Linked DNA regions of Homo sapiens: all the other regions are linked to region 4. Evidence: promoter capture Hi-C in 16 types of primary human blood cells and fetal thymus (Javierre and others, 2016). All regions are on one chromosome and are shown on one strand. The core of a region is centred on a gene start or on the middle of the fragment in contact, and the rest is flanking DNA. Distances in the headings are between cores, read along the strand shown.

Region 1 (5,840 bases), core at 2,357-4,856, 280 kb after region 4:
CTATGTGTCATAGCTTATATGTTTATTTTATATGAATAAAATATTACACAATAAAATATAAAATACAGAATATAAAAATATTGAAAGAAGTTTTTTAAAACCAGTGTTTCCAGATCCAGTCTTTGAGTTTTCCAGATTGAAAGGACTCATAAATTTTCCAGATTGAAAGACTCCTAAGGCTGCATAGTACTGAGTCTGCTGAGTACTTCTGAGTCCTATGCCTTGGGCTGCCAAGATGACCCACACCAAGGCCCATCATTGTACAACTTCAGGACAACAGAGACAAAGAGAAGAGCTTTTTTTGAAATTCTAGAGAGAAAAACAGGTGATACCCAGAGGGTCAAGAATCAGAATGGCACCAGATTTTTTGTCAATACTGGAAGCTAAAAGCTAACAATACAAGAATACATGGGCAATTTATTTACAACCTAAAATTCAGTACTCAGCCAAACTACCATTAAAGTATAAAGGTAAAATAAATTTTGGAATGGGCATAATTTCTGAAAAATTATCTTCCATGCACCCTTATTCTATAAGGCTCATAGAGTGTACATTTCAAGAAAAGAAAGGAATAAACCAAAAAGAGGATATGAAATCAAGGAACCAAAGAATGTTATTTATTAATAGATTAAGGAGTCCCAGAACAAAAGATGTGCAACACTCTTGGAGAGTAGTCAATTCAGACTAGAGGAAAAGTGAGAGCTTCCAGAAGTGTATCTCCAAGAAAAGCTGAAACTGAGAAGAGTAAATGCTGTTTTGAAAATATTGAGAGATTTTGGGAGGATCGCTTGAAACTGGGGTCGGGGGTGGGGGGTCAAGGCTGTAGTGAGCTGCGACTGTGCTATGGCACTCCAGCCTGGGTGACAGAGCAAGACCCTGTCTAAAAATATATATATAAATAAGGCTGGGCATGATGGCTCACGCCTGTAATCCCAGCACTTTGGGAGGCCAATGCAGGCAGATCACCTGAGGTCAGGAGTTTGAGACCAGCCTGGCCAACATGGTGAAACCTCGTCTCCACTAAAAATGCAAAATTTAGTGGGTATGGTGGTGTGCACCTGTAATCCTAGCTACTCGGGAGGCTGAGGCAAGAGAATAGCTTGAACCCAGGAGGTGGAGGTTGCAATGAGCCAAGATCACACCACTGAACTCCAGCCTGTGCAACAGAGCAAGACTCCATCTCAAATAATAATAATAATAATAATAAAATTTAAAAAAAAGAAAATAATGAAAGATTTACAGTTCTTTGAGAATTTGGAGAGAACCCAATGACAGTTATAAACAACAAAAATTAAAGCAATTAACTCCAGAGACAGCAAAAAGGTGTATAAAAAGGGAAGTGTAATCATATTATACTACAAAGCTCAAGTTGTAAATATATTTACATTGGCATAATGTAAACAGCATATTGAAATATAACTAAAATTTTAATAAGATATGGATAGGAAAAAGATAATAAGAAAGCTACATGATCATTTTCATTAAAGGAAGTCAAGATATCCAAAACAGAAAAAAAAATAGCAGCATAAGCATGTTATTTAGAAAATATTTAGATAAATTTCAGAATAAAAAATTAAAAGATCAAAAAGTTAAAATAAATTTTACTTGGGTTAGATATGCTGGAAAAAAAAAAAAAAAAACAAAGAAACTTGTTTCTGAGAGCTTAACAAACCTGGAAGATTAGGCCAGGAGCAGTGGCTCACACCTGTAATCCCAGATCACGAGGTCAGGAGATCCTGACCTGGCTAACCATCCTGGCTAACACAGTGAAACCGCATCTCTACTAAAAATACAAAAAGTTAGCTGGGTGTGGTGGCAGGCACCTGTAGTCCCAGCTACTTGGGAGGCTGAGGCAGGAGAGTGGTGTGAACCCAGGAGGTGGAGCTTGCAGTGAGCTGAGATCGCGCCACTGCACTCCAGCCTAGGCGACAGACCAAGATTCCATCTCAAAAAAAAAAAAAAAAAAAAATTCTGGAAGATTATATTAAATAAATCTACAGAAAGTTGTTCACAAAAAATAACATTTAAAATAGAAGATTCACAAGCAAGTAAAATGTTTCATACTCCTAGTGTTGGAAAGCAGATATGACTTTTAAATTCCTGGTTTTAATAATTCTCTGTAAGACTAAGGACACAAACACATATCTGAAATAATATTAACTTCTTAATTTCATTTGTTCCTGTAGCTTACTGTTGGCCTAAAGCCACACAATTCAGCCTTCCTTTGTCAGGATGCATTTCAGAGCTTCCAGCTGTAATTTTTTAAATGGTACTGTAACAATACAGTATTGTGAAGCCACAGACAGTAAATGATAAGAGATACAAACTGACAGGAAGAAAAAAAAAATCTCCAGGGTGCAAAAGAAGAGAGAGAGAGGTAAAGACAGTATTTATAGAAAAACATTTAGTTAAAGTACTGAAATCCTGCAAAAAAGAATAGCTTTTGGTATTTTCCATACTGAACATTAATGCATTTTGCAAACAATTTTCCCGGTTTCAGTAGTAGCCAATTCTTTTTTTACCTCTTTTTAGGTAAATCCCACTAAAACAGTACATTTAATCTTGATGTGACAAAGCAAGTTACTCATCTAAATAAGGACCCTGATTTTATTTAGTTTTACTGATTTTATGTAGAAAAACATTAGAGCTACAAATCCTCATAACAATGAAAACAACATGTGAAAGTCAAACTTGTCTTGAATTTCTGTACTAATCCACACATCTCTGCACCCTAAGGCAACAAAAGATACTGATACAGAACTATGAGCAAAAATCAGGCTGGATGCGGTAGCTCACACCTGTAATCCCAGCACTTTGGGAGGCCAAGGTGGGTGGATGGCTTGAGCTCACAAGTTCAAGACCAGCCTGGGCAACATGGTAAAACCCCATTTCTACAAAAACATACAAAAATTAGCTGGGCATGGTGGCGGGCACGTGTAGTCCCAGCTACTAGGGAGGCTGAGGTGGGAGAATCACTTAAACCCAGGAGGCAGGGGTTGCAGTGAGCCAAGATTGCACCACTGGGCAACAGAGTGAGAGACACTGTCTCCCAAAAAAAACAAAACAAAACTAAGCAAAAATCAAGAGACATATATCACATACTAGTACGCAGAACCAAAACAGGTAATTTATACTGTGGCCTAAATCCTCCTGAACTATAATCGGATCACAAAACCTTTATACTCATTCTCATAAAGCTAAACTCCTGACAATAGAAAACAGCTTGCATTTTATCTTTATGTACAGAAACTTAAGCAAGTTCACCCTATATCTTAAGGCTCAATGGGCAAACATTCCTAAGAAGAATATGTTAATCTCACAAGCATTTATCTGCTTAAACTGAACTTGATTCTATGGTATAACTCATCACAAATTATATAATATAAAGACAATGTATGACATCAACGAATATGGAAGGAAGCTTATCAAAGCAATGTTTCAATTCATAAGCAATCACATTTACAACAACAAAATTAGGTAAATTGTTTCCTTCAGGTGTTTTGCATTTTTATAGAAAATAACAATTCTATGGAGCAGAAAACCTGGATACTGTTCTTTCACCTAGAAGAATGTATAGCTGTGTCTTGAACATCTACAACTGTTGAAACAAGTTTAATGTTATTGGAAAGCCTGTGGTGAGCTTAAGGCAGAAAACAATGTTTAAGGTATTCTAGTCCTATCCTATGGTAAAATGGTTATTTAAATGTGCATTTGCACAGCTGCTTAACATATGAGTTTTTTTAATTAATAAACCAAGAGTATGCTCCCTAAGACTGTGTATGTTCTTCTAAATAAGCTTCTATATCACTAAAATTCTAAAGCGTATTCCTCAGAGCATCCACATGGGGAAGGTTATATTGATCAGTTACTCTGATGCACTACTCCATTGTTAAGCTTACAAAGAAATGCTCAGAAACAAATAGATCAGAATTAGGATGCTCACTTTCATGGCCATTCATTTTATATATTATTTTTAATTTTTTAGAGATAGGATATCACTCTGTTGCCCAGACTGGACTGCAGTGGCACAGTCAACAGCTCCCTGTAACCTCAACTCTTGGCCTCAAGTGATCCTCCTGCCTCAGCCTCCCAAGTAGCTTGGACTACAGGTGTGTGCCACCACACCTGGCTGTTTTTTTTAAAATTTCTTGTAGAGACAGGGGTCTCACTGTGTTGCCCAGGCTGGTCTTGAACTCCTGGCTCCAGTGATCCTCCCACATCAGCCTCCCAAAGTGCTGGGATTAGGGGCATGAGCCACTGTGTCCAACCATTTGAGAAAAGTGATCCTGAGATGGGAATTTTCTCAGCAAATCTTCAATAAATGCAAGACTATGCATTTTTTTAAAAAAGAAATCAAGTTTTGGGCCAGGTGCAGTGGCTCATACCTGTAATCCCAGCACTTTGGGAGGCTGAGGTGGGCAGATCACCTGAGGTCAGGGGTTCGAGCCCAGCCTGGCCAACATGGCGAAACCCTGTCTCTACTAAAAATACAAAACTTAGCTGGGCGTGGTGGCATGCGCCTGTAATCCCAGCTACTCAGGAGGCTCAGGAAGGAGAATCACTTGAACCCAGTAGGCGGAGGTTGCAGTGAGCCCAGGTTGTGCCACTGCACTCCAGCCTGGGTGACAGAGCAAGACTCTGCCTCAATTTAAAAAAAAAAAAAAGAAAGAAAGAAATCAAGTTTTGGTGATTCTTACTATTCAATACTCTTAGATTCATTAGTACAGAAGGGCTTTTACCTTTGTGTTAACAATGAGAAATGGCTGGGCGTGGTGGCTCATGCCTATAATCCCAGCACTTTGGGAGGCCAAGGTGGGCAAATCACCTGAGATCAGGAAATCAAGATCAGCCTGGCCAACACAGTGAAACTCCATCTCTGCTAAATATGCAAAAATTAGCTAGATGTGGTGGCACGCACCTGTAATCCCAGCTTCTTGGGAAGCTGAGGCAGAAGAATCACTTGAATCTGGGAGGTGGAGGGTGCAGTGAGATCACGCCACTGCACTCCAGCCTAGGCAACAGAGCAAGACTCTGTCTCAAAAAAAAAAAAAAAAAAAAAAAGCCAATGAGAAAAAAACAGGGCATTATGTAAAAGAGGAAAGAAGAACACCACAACTATAACAAAGAAACTTAAGCTGGTACTCTGTAGGACTACAATCACATCCACAATACTCAAATCAAATCTCTGGTACTGAGATTTCACTTTTAATACCCCTGTTCAAGATATTTTATTGAAGAAGCTATAAATTTATTGCTGGTTTATCTTCACTGGCTGGATTTCACAAAACAAATACCCGACCTCGCCCCAAAAAAAGAAAAGGTAGAGACACTAAGGTTATTGTTTTTAAGGTGAGATAATTTTAAGCTTAAAAAGATGAGGCATATTTAAGACTTAAATCTAAAATGAAAAACTATAAAAACCTTTGAAGATAACCTAGGAAATACCATCTGGACATAGGACCTGGCAAAGACTTCATAACAAAGATGCCAAAAGCGATTGCAACAAAACCAAAAATAAACAAATGGGACCCAATGAAACTAAAGAGCTTCTGCACAACAGAAGAAACTATCAAAGAGTAAACAGCCTACAGAAGGGGAGAAAATACTTGAAAATACTTGCAAACTATACATCAGATAAAGGTCTAATATTCAGAATCTATAAGGAACTTAAATCAGACAACCCTCATTAAAAAGTGGGCAAACGACATGAACGAACACTTTTCAAAAGATAACATGCATGCAGCAACAGGCTTATGAAAAAATACTCAACATCACTAATCATTAGAGAAATGCAAATCTAAACCACAATAAGATACCATCTCACACCAGTCAGAATGTCT
Region 2 (6,113 bases), core at 2,996-5,495, 310 kb after region 4:
AACAAACTGGACCTAAATAAGACATTAATATGACACAGCATCCAATAATTGCAAAATATACTCTTTCAAGCAGAAAGAGATCATTTACAAAAATTGACCATATGTTGAACCCTAAGGCAAGTCTCACAAATTTTAAAAAAACTGAAATAATACACAGTATATTCTCTGACCACAATGTGGATTCCTGAGGTTCAAAAAGAGCTGGGAGGAAATCACTTTTTCCTTTTTTGTTTACTGCTATCCCAGCCTCCAGGCAATACAACATTTATGGAGCAACAGCTAAGGCTAGACAGGCACCTAAAAGCCTTGTCTCTGACCAAAGGAAACAGTCCCAAGAGCATGGAAGAATCCCAGTGCAGATAGGAAGATTAAACCAAAAATTCTGACAAACTGCTGAAGACTGAATGTAGGTTAGAATCAGAGTGTGAAGTCCTCGAGGGCTGCAATCATAGGAGAGTTCCCATCCTCTTGTGGGCTTTTCCTCCAGGAACCTCAAAAGGCTCTCTAATGCAGGGGGAAGCAGAGAGGAAGTAGAGAAAGCTCCTCCATCTCCACCCCCGTGGAGCTAATGAGGGAAGAGCAAGCAACAATACCAAACCAGCCTATTTCCCTTATCTCCCTGTGGAACAAAAGGCTTAATCAGCAAGGAGCAATTTCTGGTGGAATCCCACTACAGCTGGAGGAAGGAAAGGAAGCTGACACCCAATTTTCACCCTTATCCATCTTCACTGTTTCTCTAAAACAGCAATAGCCTTAAATGCAGGCGGAAAGAGCTGAAAAAAACCTTAGCTTGAGGATACTATTGAATCCCCATAGCAGTTGGGAAAAAGAAGGGAATAGTCTTCTGAAGGCCACACCCCCAAGACCCAGGTTCTACTATCTGCATAAATCTGAGGCTTAACCAGAACATCACAGAACTCCCCTCACCCTCCACTAACTGACAGGCTTTGAGTAAAAACAATGGAATACACCTGAGAAAGCTGCAAGACTCAGACTCTCACGGAGAAACAGCACAAAGGGAAAACCCAAAGCCAAGCAGGAAGACAAGAACAAGGTATTACTGGGAAAATTTGAAGCCTCTAGTTCCCATGGCAACAATAAATGTCAACTCCAGTAACCATTGCAATAATAAACATCAAACACAGCCCAATGCCTGAACAGATTAACACAAATCTCCACCCTAAAGGACTTGCAGGAAACTAGCAGTCTTCAGTAAGCATATCAAGCATATACCTCAGTATCTCCTGTCATATACAGCACATTCAGCTTTAAACAAAAATTATGAAGCATGGCAAAGGCAGTAATAAAAACACAGCTCAAAGGGACAAAGCAATTATCAGAGCCAGACCCACGTATGACATAAATTTTGGAACTACAAGACAGTAAATTAGAACGTGATTAATACAGTAAAAACTCTAATGAAAGAGGTAGACAACATATGAGATCAGACAGGTAATTTCAGAGATAAATGAAAATTATAAAAAATCAAGTGGAAACCAAATTAGAAATAAAGACATAGTAATGACAAATGCCTTTGAGAGGCTTATCAAGTAGACTTGAAACAGCTGAAAAAAGAATCAGTAAACTTGAAAATAGGCTAGTAGAAACTACCCAAACTGAAATATAAAGAGAAAAGAGATTTTCCCACCTGGAGAACATACAACAGCTGTGGCAGAAGTCCAGAAGAAGAGACAACAGAGAAGAAACATTTGAATGGCCAAGAACTTACCGAAATTAGTGATAAGACACTAAACTACAGAGTAACAATAAGAAACTCTGAAAACAGGCTGGGCATGGTGCCTCATGCCTATAATCCCAGCACTTTGGAAGGCTGAGGCGGGAGGATGGCTTGAGCCCAGGAGACCAGCCTGGGCAGCATAGGGAGACCTCATCCCTAAAAATAAACAAAAAAATCAGCCGGGAATGATGGCACATGCCTGTGGTCCCAGCTACTTGAGAAGCCTGGGCCCTGGGAGGACTGCTTGGGCCCTGGAGGTCGAGGCTGCAAAGAGCCGTGAGCGTCCCACTGCATTCCAGCCTGGATGACAGGGCAAGACCCTGTCTCAAAAAATAAAAGAAAAAGAAAAAAAGAAAAAGAAACTGAAAATGCCAAACAATACCAAAAAAGGGGGCTGGGCACGGTGGCTCATGCCTGTAATCCAACACTTTGGGAGGCCGAGACGGGCAGATCACAAGGTCAGGAGTTTGAGACCAGCCTGACCAACAGGGTGAAACCCCGTCTCTACTAAAAATACAAAAATTAGCCAGGTGTGGTGGTGCGTGCCTGTAATCCCAGCTACTCAGGAGGCTGAGGCAGGAGAATCACTTGAACCTGGGAGGTGGAGGTTGCAGTGAGCCGAGATCGCGCCAATGCACTCTAGCCTGGGTGACAGAGCAAGACTCTGTCTCAAAAAAAAAAAAAAAAAAAAAAAAAAAGGATATCTAGGCATATCATATTCAAACTGCTGAAAGCCAAAGGCTCTTGAAGGCAGTCAAAGAGGGGAAAATATGTTACATACAGAGGAATAAAGATATAAGATTATAATAAACTTACCATCAGAAACTTCGTAAGACAGTGGAGTGACAACTTTAAAGTGCTGAAAAGAAAACTGCCCATCCAGTATTCTACATCCAGTGAAAATATCCTTCATACGTACAAAATAAAGGCTTTCCTCCAGACAAGCAAAAATAGAGAATTCACTGCCAGGAGACCCATCCTATAAGAAATATTAACAGAAGTCCTTCAGGTAGAAAAATATATAAAAGTGAGAAGCTTGAATCTACAAAATGAAGAATAAATGAAGGTAAAGTATAATTTTTTTATTTTTCATTGCTCTAAAAGATAATTGCTTAAAGCAGTAACAATGTATTGGATAAGTACCCCACAGGTAAAAGTAAAACGCTTAACAACAATGGCAAAAGGGAAAAGAGGGAAGAACTGGGAACACACTATAACCATACTTTAACTAAATGCGAAGTGGCAAAACACCTGAAAAACTCAGGTTATTTTAAAATGTATAATGTAAACAAAAAAGCAACCACTAAAAACCTTTTTAAAGAAATCTAAGTGATAAGTCAATAAAGTAAAATGGAATTAAAAAAAAAATCACACCAAAGAAGGCAGTAGGAAAAAAACCACACAGGCGCATGCCTATAGTCCCAGCTACTCAGGAGGCTGAGGCAGCAGAATTATTTCAGTTCAGAAGTTTAAGACCAGCCTAGGCAACACGGCAAGACCTCTTCTCTACAAAAAAATAGAAAAATTAGCTAGGCATGGTGGCACACACCTATAGTCCCAGCTACTCAAGAGGTAGGAGGATCGCTTGAGCCCAAGAGTTTGAGACCAGCCTGGGCAACATAGTGAGACCCCATATCTACGAAAAATTTAAAAATTCACCAGGCATGGTGGTGTGCACCTGTAGTACCAGCTACTGGGGAGACCGAGGTGAGAGAATCACTTGAGCCCAGGAGGTCCAGGCTACAGTGAACCATAATTATGCCACTGTACTCCAGCCTGGGTGAGAGAGAGACCTTGTCTCAAAAAATAAAAAAAGAAACAAACAACAAATGCAACAAATAGAGAAGAGCTAGCAAGATGGTAGGTTTTCATCTAATTATACTAATAATCACTTTAAATGTAAATAGTCTTACCAGTTAAAAAACAGATTGTCAGACTGGGGGAGAAAAAAAAAAGCAAGACCAGGCCGGGTGTAATGGCTCACACCTGTAATCCCAGCACTTTGGGAGGCTGAGGCAGAAGGATCGCTTGAGCCCAGGAGCCCAAGACTACCCTGGGCAACATGGTGAAACCCTTTCTCTACAAAAATACAAAATATAGCTGGGCATGGTGGCATATGCCTGTAAGTCCAGCTACTTAGGACATTGAGGTGGGAGGATTGATTGAACCCAGGAGGTCAAGGCTGCAATGAGCCATGATCATGCTACTGTACTCCAACCAGGGTGACAGAGTGAGAACCTGTCTCAAAAAAAAAAAAAAAAAAGCAAGATCAAGCTATATTCGGTCCACAAGAAGCCTGCTAAGCAAAGATTTAAAGAGGAAAAAAATAAAACAATGGAGAAAAATATACCATACAAACACTAATTAATCAAAAGAAAGCTACTGTAGCCAAATGAATTGCAGACAAAGTAGATTTCAGAACAAGAAAGATTGTCAAGGATAAAGAGGAGTGATCTGGTTTGGCTCTGTGTCCCTACCCAAATCTCATCTTGAATTGTAATCCACACATGTCAAGGGAGGGACTTGGTGGGAGGCGACTGGATCACGGGGGTGGTTTCCCCCTGTTCTTGTGATAATGAGTTCTCATGAAATCTGATTGTTTAAAAGTATGTGACAGTTCCCCACCCCACTCCTGCTGCCATGTAAGACATGCCTTTCTTCCCCTTCACCTTCTGCGATGATTTTAAGTTTCCTGAGGCCTTCCCAGCCATGTGGGGCTGAGAGTCAAATTAAACCTCTTTTCTTTATAAACTACCCAGTCTCAGGTAGTTTTTTATAGCAGTGTGAAAATGGACTAACCCAGAAAATTGGTACCAGGAATGGGGTACTACTATAGATACCAGAAAATGTGGAGTGACTTTGGAACTGGGTAACAGACAGAGGCTGGAAAAGTTTGGAGGGCTCAGAAGAAGGCAGGAAGATGTGGGAAAGTTTGGAACTTCCTAGAGACTTGTTAGAAGATTTTTACCAAAGTGCTGATTGTGATATGGACAATGAATCCAGGCTGAAGTGGCCCAAGATGGAGATGAGAAACTTATTGTGAACTGGAGCAAAGGTCACTCTTGCTATGCCTTAGCAAACAGACTGGTGGCATTTTGTCCCTGCCCTAGAGATCTGCGGAACTTTGAACTTGAAAGACATGATTTAGAGTATCTGGCAGGAGAAATTTCTAAGCAGCAAAGCATTCAAGATGTGACCTGGCTTTTTCTGAAAGCGTACTGTCAGCCGGGGACAGTGGCTCATGCCTGTAATCCCGGCACTTTGGGAGGCCAAGGCAGGTGGATCACCTGACGTCAGAAGTTCGAGACCAATCTGGCCAATATGGTGAAACTCCGTTTCCACTAAAAATACAAAAATTAGCTGGGCATGGTGGCATACACCTGTAGTCCCAGCTTGGGAGGCTGAGGCAGGAGAATCACTTGAACTGGGAGGCAGAGGTTGCAGTGAGCCAAGATCGTGTCATTGCACTCCAGCCTGGGCAACAGAGTGAGACTCCCTCTCAAAATAATAATAATAATAATGAAAATGTTCATTGTATGTCATATGTGTTCACAAAGAGATAGTCTGAAATTGGAACTTATGTTTAAAAGGGAAGCAGAGCATAAAAGTTTGGAAAATTTGCAGCCTTACCATGTAGTAGAAAAGAAAAACCCATTTTCTGGGGGAGAAATTCAAGCTGCTGTTCTTGTGATAGTGAGTTCTCACAAGATCTGATGGTTTTACAGTGTGTGGCAGTTCTGCCCCCACTCCTGCCACCATGTAAGACGTGACTTACTTTCCCTTCTGCCATGATTATAAGTTTCCTGAGGCCTCCCCAGCCATGCGGCACTGTGAGTCAATTAAACCTCTTTTCTTTATAGATTACCCAGTCTCAGGTAGTTCTTTATAGCATTGTGAAAACAAACTAATACAAGGGGTATTATAATAGGGTCAGTTCCTAAGAAGACATAACAATTCTAAATGTGTATGTACCTTAAAACAAAGCTTCAAAATACATGAGGCAAAACTGATAGGTATGACAGAAAATAAAGACAAATTACAATTATAGTAGACTTTTATTAACAGTTAACCCTTAGTAATTGATAAACCAAGTAAGCAGATTGGCCAGGCATAGTGGCTCACCGTGGTAATCTCAGCACTTTAGGAGGCTGGGGTGGGCAGATCACTTGAGGCTAGGAGTTCAAGACCAGCCTGGCCTACATGGCAAAACCCTGTTTCTACCAAAACTACCAAAATTAGCTGGGCTTGGTGACATGCACCTGTAGTCCCAGCTACTCAGGAGACTGAGGCACGGGAATCACTGCAACTTGGGAGGTAGAAGTTGCAGTGAGCAGAGATCGTGCCACTGTATTCCAGCCTGGGTGATACAGCGAGA
Region 3 (5,483 bases), core at 1,490-3,989, 350 kb after region 4:
CAGACCTCATCTCTACAGAAAAATAAATAAATAAAATTAAAAAAAATAAACCCTGAAGGGCTGGGCGCGGTGGCTCACGCCTGTAATCCCAGCACTTTTGGAGGCTGAGGCGGGAGGATCACAAGGTCAAGAGATCGAGACCATCCTGGCTAACATGGTGAAACTCCGTCTCTACTAAAAATACAAAAAAAAATTAGCCAAGCATGGTGGCAGGCGCCTGTAGTCCCAGCTACTCGGGAGGCTGAGGCAGGAGAATGGTGTGAAACTGGGAGGCGGAGCTTGCAGTGAGCTGAGATCGTGCCACTGCACTCCAGCCTGGACAACAGAGCGAGACTCCATCTCAAAATAAATAAATAAATAAACCCTGAAGATCTCCTCAAAGTAAATTTTCCAATATTACTTTAAATGAATAATTAATAAAGACAGTTGTTAATAATATTACTTACATATCTTAAATCTTCTCCTGCCAAGAACATCTACCCAGAGTTACAGATTTTTATCTGAATACCCAGTCTCATCAGGGTTTAGGAAATGTTTTGCATTTGGAAAGACAACATCTCCAATCAGTCTTTAACCTCCAACCGCTCCACTAAAACTACCCTTTATCAAGGTTACCAATAACTGCCACATTGTTAAATCAAATAGTTAATTCTCAGCCCTCATCTCAATTGTAGTATTTGACACAGTTGATCACTCCCTATTCCTTGAAACACTTTCCTCATTAGACTCCAGGATACCCTCTAACCTAGTTCTCATCTTAACTCTCCAGCCACTGCTACTAAGTCTTCCTTGATGTTTCCTTCTCATCTTCCCCAACTCTAAACTCTGGAAATTAAGTTCTTCAACTGCTTCTTACTTCCATCTCTACTCACTTAATTGGAGATCTCATCCAGCTTTCTGGATTTAAATATAATCTATTTTAACAATACCCAGAGGTATATGTCCAGCAGATCCTTCTCTCCTGAATTCCAGATTCATAAACCCAACTGTTTACTCAACATCCCTAAGTCTTTTTTTTTTTTTTTTTTTTGAGACAGAGAGTCTCACTCTATGACCCAGGCTGGAGTGCAGTGGCGCAATCTTGGCTCATTGCAACCTCCACCTCCCAGGTTCAAGCAATTTTCCTGCCTCAGCCTCCCAAGTAGCTGGAAATACAGGAATGTGCCACCACGCACAACTAATTTTTTGTATTTTTAATAGACATGCGGTTTCACCATGTTAGCCAGGGTGATCTTGATCTCCTGATCTCCTGATCTCATGATCCACCCGCCTCGGCCTCCCAAAGTGCTGGGATTACAGGCGTGAGCCACCGTGACCAGCTTTTTTTTTAATGTTTTTATTTTTATTTTTATTTTTTTTTTGAGACAGAGTTTCGCTCTTTTAGCCCAGGCTGGAGTATAATGGCGCAATCTCGGCTCACTGCAACCTCTACCTCCCAAGTTCAAGTGATTCTCCTGCCTCAGCCTCCCAAGTAGCTGGGATTACGGGCGCCTACCACCATGCCTAGGTAATTTTTTACTTTTTTTTTTAGTAGAGATGGGGTTTCACGACATTCGCCAGGCTGGTCTTGAACTCCTGACCTCAGGTGATCTGCCCGCCTCGGCCTCCCAAAGCACTGGGATTACAGGCGTGAGCCACTGCGCCTGGCCAACATCTCTAAGTCTTAATAGGCATGTTTAATTTATGTCTAAAACTGAGCTTCTGTTACTTCTCCTGCAAACTTGTTTCTCTTTCTTTCAGTCTTCTCCATCTCAATAAATGACAACTGCATTCTTCCAGAAACTCAATACAAAAACCTTAACTCTTTCCTTTCTTTCACAGCACATATCCAATCTATCAGCAAAACCTGCTGACTCTACTTGAAAAATATATCCAGAATCAGATCATGTTACCACAGTCACTGCTACTCTCTAGCACAAACCACATTTTCTCTCACCTTGATTACAGTAATAGGCTCCAAACTAGTATTTCTGCTTTTGTCCTTGCCCAATCCACCACTATCTACTCAGCAGCCAAAGAAATGAAAATGTCAAAATATAAATCAGATCATGTCACCCTGCCCAAACGCTCCAAAGACTTCCTATTTTGCTCAGTGTAAATGCTGAAGTCCTACAAAGACCAGCAGCAGCAGCAGCACCTGGGAGCTTATTAGAATTAGGCCCTACCCCAGACCTATGAAATTAGAGTCTAAATTTTAATAGAAACCCCCAAGGTAATTCATGTGCACATTGAAGTTTGAAAAGCACTTCCATAAAGCACCACAAAATAAGGACCCACCCTCACCATTCCTCAGGCAAGCTTCTGTCTCAGGACATGTACACTGTGATTCACTATGCCTAGAATGCTCTTCTCATATATGTGTATGGCTCACTCCTTCACTTCTTTCAAGCCCTTACTCAAATGTCACCTTCTGTATGAAGCCATCTGTGAACACTCAACCCCTTCCCCTCAATACATTCTATTCCTGCTTTCCTTTTACTTTTCTCTTTAGAATTTGTCATCATAAATTTAAAAATGACATTTATGCATTATTTATTTATTTCAGGCCAGGGATGGTGGCTCATGCCTGTAATCCCTGGATTTTGGGAGGCCGAGGTGGAAGGATCACTTGAGCCCAAGAGTTCGAGACCAGCATGGGCAACATAGCGAGACCCTCATCTCTACAAAAAATAAAAATATTAGCTGATCACAGTGGCATATGCCTGCAGTCCCAGCTACCTGAGACACTGATGCAGGGGACTGTTTGTGCCCAGGAATGTGAGATTGCTGTGAGCTACGACTGCACCCTTGCACTCCAGCCTGGGCAACAGAACAAGACGTTGTCTTAAAAAAAAAGGTTTTCAGAAAGAAAAATTGAGTCTTTGAGTGAAAACAACAGATATACCTATAACTGTCTACAACGCAATAACAATCCTTTACATTGATAAAAATCTTTCATGCAAATTTTCTTATCTGATTCTCAATAACCCCATGAGCTGTGTAAAGCAAGTAATGATAAGCCCATTTTAAAGGTGAGAAAACAAACATACTTTAACTCTCAAAGCATGGAAGTAATAATGTCAAACCTGGGACTGAAGTCTCAATTTTTAGTTCAAAACTCTACAATATCACACCTCCTCTTGCCAATGAAACTGAACCAGACTATGAAATCATACAGCCATAATATTATGCTAACGTTACTAAGCTTTCCTAAACCATCCAGTGTCTATGCAGAATGAGAACAAATTCAGTTTACCCAAGTCACAATTTCAATTTGAGAAATAAGAATGCAAGCTACAGCTGGGCACAGTGGCTCACACCTGTAATCCCAGCACTTTGGGAAGCTGAGGTGGGGGATCACTTGAGCCCAGGAGTTTGAGACCAGCCTGGGCAATACAGCAAGACTCTGTCTCTATTATAAAAAATAAAGATTTAATTTAAAAGAAAAAAATTCAAGCTGCTCCCCGTTACTTGTAAGTCTAATCCCGTGTCTAATAACATTCAGGAAGAATGTAGGAAATGAGCTGTTTCATTATATACATTAAGAAAGTTCTTGTTGAGCTACAGGTGCTAGAAAAAAAGAGAAAATGGGAGAAAGGAAGATGGAACAAGTAAATGAATGAGAACTGAGTTATAGAGAGGAAAGTATAATTATTTTATACTGTTCTGAGTGCCTGGGTGATGTGATTTTGCAGTAGAAGAAAAAACGACATACCTCCTCAAAATCCCAGCAATAGCTTCCCTTTCTTTGCATAGGTGAGGATGAACAGTTGTAATCCAAAAGGTTTCCCAAAAAGTTATTTTTTAAAAAGACATAGAAACAGAAGATCCATATGAAAAAGAGATCCAATCTGGGAGGATGGACACTGTGTCTTCTAAATCTTGTGACCAAAGGCAACTGTTCACCGAGCGTCAGCATCTGAAGAAAGTGCTAACTGTGGATGTGTCTTCTCCAGAGATTAATACCTGCTGGGACAGAGAAGCAAGAAAAGGAGAAAGAACTACTGAATGCAAATGACTGTCTGACAAGCAATGACAGGCTGAGCATCCCAACTTTGAAAGGCCAAAACCCAAAATGCCCCAAAATCTGAAAACTTTTGAGTCCCAACATGATGCTCAAAAGACACACTCATTGGAGCATTTCAGAGTTCAGACTTTCCAACTAGGGATGCTCAACTGATAAGTATAATACAAATATTCCAAAATCTAAAAAAAATCTGAAATACTTCTGGTCTGAAGTATATCAGTTCTCAGGCTGCAAATTTTTTTTCTTTTTTTTTTTTTTTTGAGACAGAGTTTTGCTCTTGTTGCCCAGGCTGGAGTGCAATGGTGCAATCTTGGCTCACTGCAACCTCCACCTCCCAGGTTCAAGCGATTCTCCTGCCTCATCCTCCCAAGTAGCTGGCATAACAGGCGCTTACCACCATGCCAGGCTAATTTTTGTATTTTCAGTAGAGACTGGGTTTCACCATGTTGGCCAGGCTGGTCTTGATCTCCTGACCTCATGATCCCCCTGCCTCGGCCTCCCAAAGTGCTGGGATTACAGGTGTGAGCCACCTGCGCCCAGCCTAAAATTTTTTAAATTAACATTAGTGAACAAAAAGTGATCACATGGAGGTAATACCAGTGACCACGCCCAGCTGGCACTGAGTTATCAATGACAGCAATAAGCAAAAGTACACTTTTGCAGGTAATCCAGCTCTCTCTCTGATAATAGTAAAGAAAATATTAAAATCTATTTCAAGTTTTTTGTAGCAAAATCATGGTCATATCATGCAACGAATCATAGATAAATATTTGTCTGCAGTCTGCCAAACAGAGCAACCATTCTGGCAACTTATAAAACAAATATCATAGAACTACTAATGCAGATGTCCACTCTCAGCAGAAAATGTAGAATAATCATATAAAAAAAACATATGTAGGTTTTGGCAGAGAAACTAAAAGTTGACATGAAAACAAAGGGACATAAATGTTAATATGACATACAGGGTGGTTTGCATACCTTTTTAGCTAACATACAGAACAAGAAATCTGTTATATTTTCGCAACAAATTAAGGCAGTATTTATTGATACCTGCTACATCACTGCATTTCTATCAAACCACAAATTATAGAATATATAAAATGAAATACATTGGATGGAACTAGCAGCAGTCAAGACACAGCAGAAGGAAAGACGAGTGAATGTAAAGACACAGAAATAAAAACTATCCAAAATGAAACCCAAAATATAAGACCAAAGAAAAAGAGCAGAGCATCAGTAAGGTATGGGACAACTTCAAGAACCTAATAATATATATGTAACTGGAATCCGAGGAGCGATGTGTGACTATTTGGAGAAATAATAGCCAAAGATGTTCCAAATCTGATGAAAAGTATAAACCCACAAACTCCAAAAGCTTAACAACAAGAGCAAAAAACTCAAAAGAAAGCTTATACTCCACCAGGGCACAACAAAATCAAATTCCTTGAAACCAGACATAAAGAAAAATCTTAAAAGG
Region 4 (6,110 bases), core at 3,097-5,596:
TAAGCTATGATTGCGCCACTGCACTCCAGCCTGGGCAACAGAGCAAGACTCATCTCTAAAAAACATTTAAAAATTGTTTTAAGAAGACAAATGAGATAGTCGCTGATGGTAATGACTGTGTAAAAACTGAACATGGCTGGGTGTGGTTGCTCACACCTATAATCTCAGCACTTTGGGAGGCTGAGATTACAGCCTCCCAAGTGGCTCCCAAGGCAGGAGGATCACTTGAGCCTGGGAGTTAGAGAACAGCTTGGACAATATAGGGAGAGCCCAACTCTACAAAAATGAAAATAAATTAGCCAGGCATGGTGGCACACACCAATGGTCCCAGCTACTCAGGGGTTGAGGTGGTGGACCGCTTGAGCCCAGGAGGTTGAGGCTGCAGTGAGCCATGATCATGCCGCTGCACTCCAACCTGAGTCACAGAGTGATACCCTGTCTCAAAAAACAATAGGCCAGGTGTGGTGGCTCACGCCTGTAACCCCAGCACTTTGGGAGGCCGAGGCGGATGGATCACTTGAGATCAGGAGTTAGAGACCAGCCTGGCTAACATGGCAAAATCCTGTCTGTACTAAAAATATAAAAATTAGCCAGGCATGGCAGTACATGCCTGTAGTCCTGGTTACTTGGGAGGCTAAGGCAGGAGAATCGCTTGAACCCAGGAAGAGGAGGTTGCAGTGAGCCAAGATCACACCACTGCACTCCAGCTTGGGTGACAGAGTGAGACCCTGTCTCAAAACAGCTAAACCTGGTGGGGGTGCCTGGTGTGTAGGATGGTCAGGGGTGGTCTCTCCAAGGACATGAGTGTGAGCGGAGACCTGAAGGAGACTCAGGAAGAGATTAATACTGTCAGCAACAAATATATTGATCACTTACAAGCACTCCCAATAATCCTATTAGGTAGGCACTATTATCATTCCCATTTTACAGAGTGGAGAACCGAAGCACACTCTCGGGAGGGCGGGGTAGCTGGCTGCACCCAGGCTGTGTAGCCTCAGTCCAGATGTAAGGGTGGGTGGAAAAGAGCCTTGCCCAATGAGGGAGAACAGTGAAACCAAGGCCATAGGGTCTAAAGATTCACGAACCAGGCTCTCATGGAGAAAGCAGGTGAGGTTTACTGTATAGATGGGTGTGCCCCTACCCCACACTGAGGCTTCCTCGTCTGAGCAAACTGAGGCCCAGAGAGGGGAAGGAAGCAGGACTACCATGGTGACTCAAAGACCAGCTAGAATCCAGCCTCCTCTCCTCGAGGCTTCCACTGCCCCACGCCAGGCCTGTGTGACTCAGTCTAGGGCCTTTCCATTACCCCAGCTAAACCTTTCTTTAGTCATTTATACCATGGTGTGAATGGCTGGCTGGTCTTTCCTGAGAGCTATCTTTGATGAGGGGAGGGAGGCATAGCCAGGTTTGGGAAGCTGATACCCCAGGAAGCCCAGTTGACTGTGTGGGTTATAGCCCAGGCTGTCACTGATTTGTAACGGGACCTGAGCAACTCTGCAGAGCTAGGCCTCAGTCTTTTCATCTGCAAAATGGATATAGCAGAGATGGTCAGAGTAGGTGACTTCGAATGACCCTTCCAGCTCACTATGAGTCTGTTTTCCTGAACAAAGAGCATTTTTTGTTTAAAAAAAAATTTCTTGGGCCGGACACGGTGGTTCACTCCTATAATCCTGGCACTTTGGGAGGCCGAGGAGGGTGGATCGCTTGAGCCAGGAGTTCAGGACCAGCCTGGGCAACATAGCGAGACTCCACCCCTACAAAAAATACAAAAACTAGTGGTGTGCACTTGTGGTCCCAGCTACTCAGGAGGCTGAGGTGAGAGGATCGCTTGAGCCCAGGAGGCAGAGGCTACAGTGAGCTATGATTGTGGCACTGCACTCCAGCCTGGGCGACAGAGACCTTGTCTCAAAACTTTTTTTTTCTTCGTCAAGCTTTACAGAATAAAGAGCACTGTCACCTCAGTGATGGCTGTTAGTTCCCCATCACCAGGGCTCCATGAGGTTGCAATTGTGAAACTCACAAAGGAGGAACCTGAGACAGAGAGGGGAAGTACTGAGATCATCTAGGTCCATTCCCCCACTCACTCGTTCATTCAACAAATATTCAGGAGCACCTTCTAGGTGCCAGGCCCTGGAGACACATCAGTGAACAAAACAGACATCATCCCACCTCTTTCCACTACAGGCCAAGCACCATGCTGGTCTCTGGGAACCCTGTTGTGAGCAAGACAGACCCAGGCTTACCCTTGTGGACTCATGTTACAGGCAGGGAGACGGGCACAAAACACAAATAAAAAGCTTCCATGCTGTCAGAAGCACTATGCAAAAAGCAAGATGCTGAGGTACTGCTAAGCTGTGTGGGATGGGGGCTCAGCCCGGCCAGGGAGGGGCCAGTTGTGGGTCAGTCTTGACCCAAGGCATCCAGGACACCCTCCTTCTGGCCATGAGGGTCCACGTCAGAATCAAACCCTCACCTTAACCTCATTAGCGTTGGGCATAATCACCAGGCCAAGCGCCTTAAACTACGAGAGGCCCCATCCCACCCGCCCTGCCTTAGCCCTGCCACGTGTGCCAAACGCTGTTAGACCCAACACCACCCAGGCCAGGTAGGGGGCTGGAGCCCAGGTGGGCTGCAGGGAAGGGGGCACTCTTCTGAGCAGACAGATCTGGGAATCCTGGGTGGGAAGAGAGACAGTGAGAGAGAGATTAAGGGATATTTCCCAGGCATCAGGGCTTTGCACTCTCAGGGGTCCTTCCGCCTGGATGTCCTTCCCCTGAAGCTTCCTCCTGTTGTTCCGTTCTCAGCTCAAGCTCCAGCTTCTCAGAGAAGCCTCCTGTGTTGGGAGTGGCTGCGACTGAACTGTCCCTACTGTTATTCGCTCTTCTATTTGTTTGTGGTCCCTGTGCCCCCTCACCCCACAAAAACACTGGCTTCTTGTGAGCAGGAGCTTGCTCTTTCGTGTACCCTGTGTGTCCCCAAGGACCAAGCACCTTGTCTGGGCCACAGTAGGTGCTCAATACACATGTTGGCTGGACAGTGGTCACTGAGCGGCCGCACGTCGGGCACTCTCAGCACTTGCACAGGCCGCCCCAGACACCCCACTTCATTCCTGGGAGGTGTCATCATGTTGCTTGGACGACGGGGAGAGGGGGACCTGCCAGTGTTGGCCTCCATTTTCCCCCAGTCATCTGCCCCCAAGGCTCTGACTACTTTCTTTCTCACGGTACATCCTGCTATTCTGGAATCGGCCCTCGTGGGGCCACCTGGTACATGGCATTTGAGGCCCTCGTGGCTGATTAGGCCTCCCCCAACAGTGCCCTGTCTGCTGCCTCCAGGGCCAGCCTCCCCTTCAGACTGGAGTCCCCTGAAGGGTTCTGCCCCTCCCCTGCTCTGGTAGCCCCCTCCATCCTCCCTCCCTCCACTCCATCTTTGGGGGCATTTGAGTCACCTTTCTACACCAGTGATCTGCCCAAGCCACTGCTCACTTTCCTCTGGATAAAGCCAGGTTCCCCGGCCTAGCGTTCAAGACCCATTACAACTGCCCCCAGCCCAGATCTTCCCCACCTAGCCACCTGGCAAACTGCTCCTTCTCTCAAAGGCCCAAACATGGCCTCCCAGACTGCAACCCCCAGGCAGTCAGGCCCTGTCTCCACAACCTCACAGCCACCCTGGACGGAATCTGCTTCTTCCCACATTTGAGTCCTCCTCAGCCCCTGAGCTCCTCTGGGCAGGGCTGTTTCTTTCCATCTTTGTATTCCCAGGGGCCTGCAAATAAATGTTTAATGAACGAACAAGAGAGTGAATTCCAATTCCATGCAACAAGGATTGGGCTCCTGGGCCCTAGGCTATGTGTCTGGCACCAGAAACGGAAGCTGCAGGTTGCAGCCCCTGCCCTCATGGAGCTCCTCCTGTCAGAGGAGTGTGGGGACTGGATGACTCCAGAGGTAACTTGTGGGGGAACGAACAGGTAAGGGGCTGTGTGACGAGATGAGAGACTGGGAGAATAAACCAGAAAGTCTCTAGCTGTCCAGAGGACATAGCACAGAGGCCCATGGTCCCTATTTCAAACCCAGGCCACCAGACTGAGCTGGGACCTTGGGACAGACAAGTCATGCAGAAGTTAGGGGACCTTCTCCTCCCTTTTCCTGGATCCTGAGTACCTCTCCTCCCTGACCTCAGGCTTCCTCCTAGTGTCACCTTGGCCCCTCTTAGAAGCCAATTAGGCCCTCAGTTTCTGCAGCGGGGATTAATATGATTATGAACACCCCCAATCTCCCAGATGCTGATTCAGCCAGGAGCTTAGGAGGGGGAGGTCACTTTATAAGGGTCTGGGGGGGTCAGAACCCAGAGTCATCCAGCTGGAGCCCTGAGTGGCTGAGCTCAGGCCTTCGCAGCATTCTTGGGTGGGAGCAGCCACGGGTCAGCCACAAGGGCCACAGCCATGAATGGCACAGAAGGCCCTAACTTCTACGTGCCCTTCTCCAATGCGACGGGTGTGGTACGCAGCCCCTTCGAGTACCCACAGTACTACCTGGCTGAGCCATGGCAGTTCTCCATGCTGGCCGCCTACATGTTTCTGCTGATCGTGCTGGGCTTCCCCATCAACTTCCTCACGCTCTACGTCACCGTCCAGCACAAGAAGCTGCGCACGCCTCTCAACTACATCCTGCTCAACCTAGCCGTGGCTGACCTCTTCATGGTCCTAGGTGGCTTCACCAGCACCCTCTACACCTCTCTGCATGGATACTTCGTCTTCGGGCCCACAGGATGCAATTTGGAGGGCTTCTTTGCCACCCTGGGCGGTATGAGCCGGGTGTGGGTGGGGTGTGCAGGAGCCCGGGAGCATGGAGGGGTCTGGGAGAGTCCCGGGCTTGGCGGTGGTGGCTGAGAGGCCTTCTCCCTTCTCCTGTCCTGTCAATGTTATCCAAAGCCCTCATATATTCAGTCAACAAACACCATTCATGGTGATAGCCGGGCTGCTGTTTGTGCAGGGCTGGCACTGAACACTGCCTTGATCTTATTTGGAGCAATATGCGCTTGTCTAATTTCACAGCAAGAAAACTGAGCTGAGGCTCAAAGAAGTCAAGCGCCCTGCTGGGGCGTCACACAGGGACGGGTGCAGAGTTGAGTTGGAAGCCCGCATCTATCTCGGGCCATGTTTGCAGCACCAAGCCTCTGTTTCCCTTGGAGCAGCTGTGCTGAGTCAGACCCAGGCTGGGCACTGAGGGAGAGCTGGGCAAGCCAGACCCCTCCTCTCTGGGGGCCCAAGCTCAGGGTGGGAAGTGGATTTTCCATTCTCCAGTCATTGGGTCTTCCCTGTGCTGGGCAATGGGCTCGGTCCCCTCTGGCATCCTCTGCCTCCCCTCTCAGCCCCTGTCCTCAGGTGCCCCTCCAGCCTCCCTGCCGCGTTCCAAGTCTCCTGGTGTTGAGAACCGCAAGCAGCCGCTCTGAAGCAGTTCCTTTTTGCTTTAGAATAATGTCTTGCATTTAACAGGAAAACAGATGGGGTGCTGCAGGGATAACAGATCCCACTTAACAGAGAGGAAAACTGAGGCAGGGAGAGGGGAAGAGACTCATTTAGGGATGTGGCCAGGCAGCAACAAGAGCCTAGGTCTCCTGGCTGTGATCCAGGAATATCTCTGCTGAGATGCAGGAGGAGACGCTAGAAGCAGCCATTGCAAAGCTGGGTGACGGGGAGAGCTTACCGCCAGCCACAAGCGTCTCTCTGCCAGCCTTGCCCTGTCTCCCCCATGTCCAGGCTGCTGCCTCGGTCCCATTCTCAGGGAATCTCTGGCCATTGTTGGGTGTTTGTTGCATTCAATAATCACAGATCACTCAGTTCTGGCCAGAAGGTGGGTGTGCCACTTACGGGTGGTTGTTCTCTGCAGGGTCAGTCCCAGTTTACAAATATTGTCCCTTTCACTGTTAGGAATGTCCCAGTTTGGTTGATTAACTATATGGCCACTCTCCCTATGGAACTTCATGGGGTGGTGAGCAGGACAGATGTCTGAATTCCATCATTTCCTTCTTCTTCCTCTGGGCAAAACATTGCACATTGCTTCATGGCTCCTAGGAGAGGCCCCCACATGTCCGGGTTATTTCATTTCCCG

Evidence for each region. The method cuts DNA at HindIII sites, captures the fragments that hold promoters and counts their contacts. A CHiCAGO score of 5 or more calls a contact.
Region 1: a fragment that was not itself captured here is called in contact with the fragment with the promoter of RHO in region 4 in 3 of 17 cell types (erythroblasts, total CD8 T cells and endothelial precursors); the score reaches 6.1 in erythroblasts.
Region 2: a fragment that was not itself captured here is called in contact with the fragment with the promoter of RHO in region 4 in 3 of 17 cell types (erythroblasts, M2 macrophages and M1 macrophages); the score reaches 6.1 in erythroblasts.
Region 3: a fragment that was not itself captured here is called in contact with the fragment with the promoter of RHO in region 4 in 4 of 17 cell types (M1 macrophages, M2 macrophages, M0 macrophages and 1 more); the score reaches 6.1 in M1 macrophages.

Annotation. Positions count from the first base shown.
Region 1 is chr3:129,807,299-129,813,138 of GRCh38, forward strand. All of the region lies in intron 4 of TMCC1 (transmembrane and coiled-coil domain family 1), which reads right to left. Among named protein-coding and RNA genes, the nearest start is that of TMCC1, 83 kb to the right of the region's middle. The HindIII fragment of the contact is 375 bases long and covers 3,420-3,794 here.
Region 2 is chr3:129,836,344-129,842,456 of GRCh38, forward strand. The region is part of intron 2 of TMCC1 (transmembrane and coiled-coil domain family 1); the gene reads right to left. Among named protein-coding and RNA genes, the nearest start is that of TMCC1, 54 kb to the right of the region's middle. The HindIII fragment of the contact is 2,949 bases long and covers 2,772-5,720 here.
Region 3 is chr3:129,876,615-129,882,097 of GRCh38, forward strand. TMCC1 (transmembrane and coiled-coil domain family 1) reads right to left here. Exons shown (of 7, transcript NM_001017395.5): 2 at 3,695-3,945. Among named protein-coding and RNA genes, the nearest start is that of TMCC1, 14 kb to the right of the region's middle. The HindIII fragment of the contact is 886 bases long and covers 2,297-3,182 here.
Region 4 is chr3:129,524,293-129,530,402 of GRCh38, forward strand. RHO (rhodopsin) reads left to right here and starts at 4,347. Exons shown (of 5, transcript NM_000539.3): 1 at 4,347-4,802. The coding sequence starts at 4,442. RefSeq lists a silencer at 1,900-2,100 and enhancers at 4,298-5,023, 5,024-5,749. The HindIII fragment of the contact is 8,320 bases long and covers 2,778-6,110 here.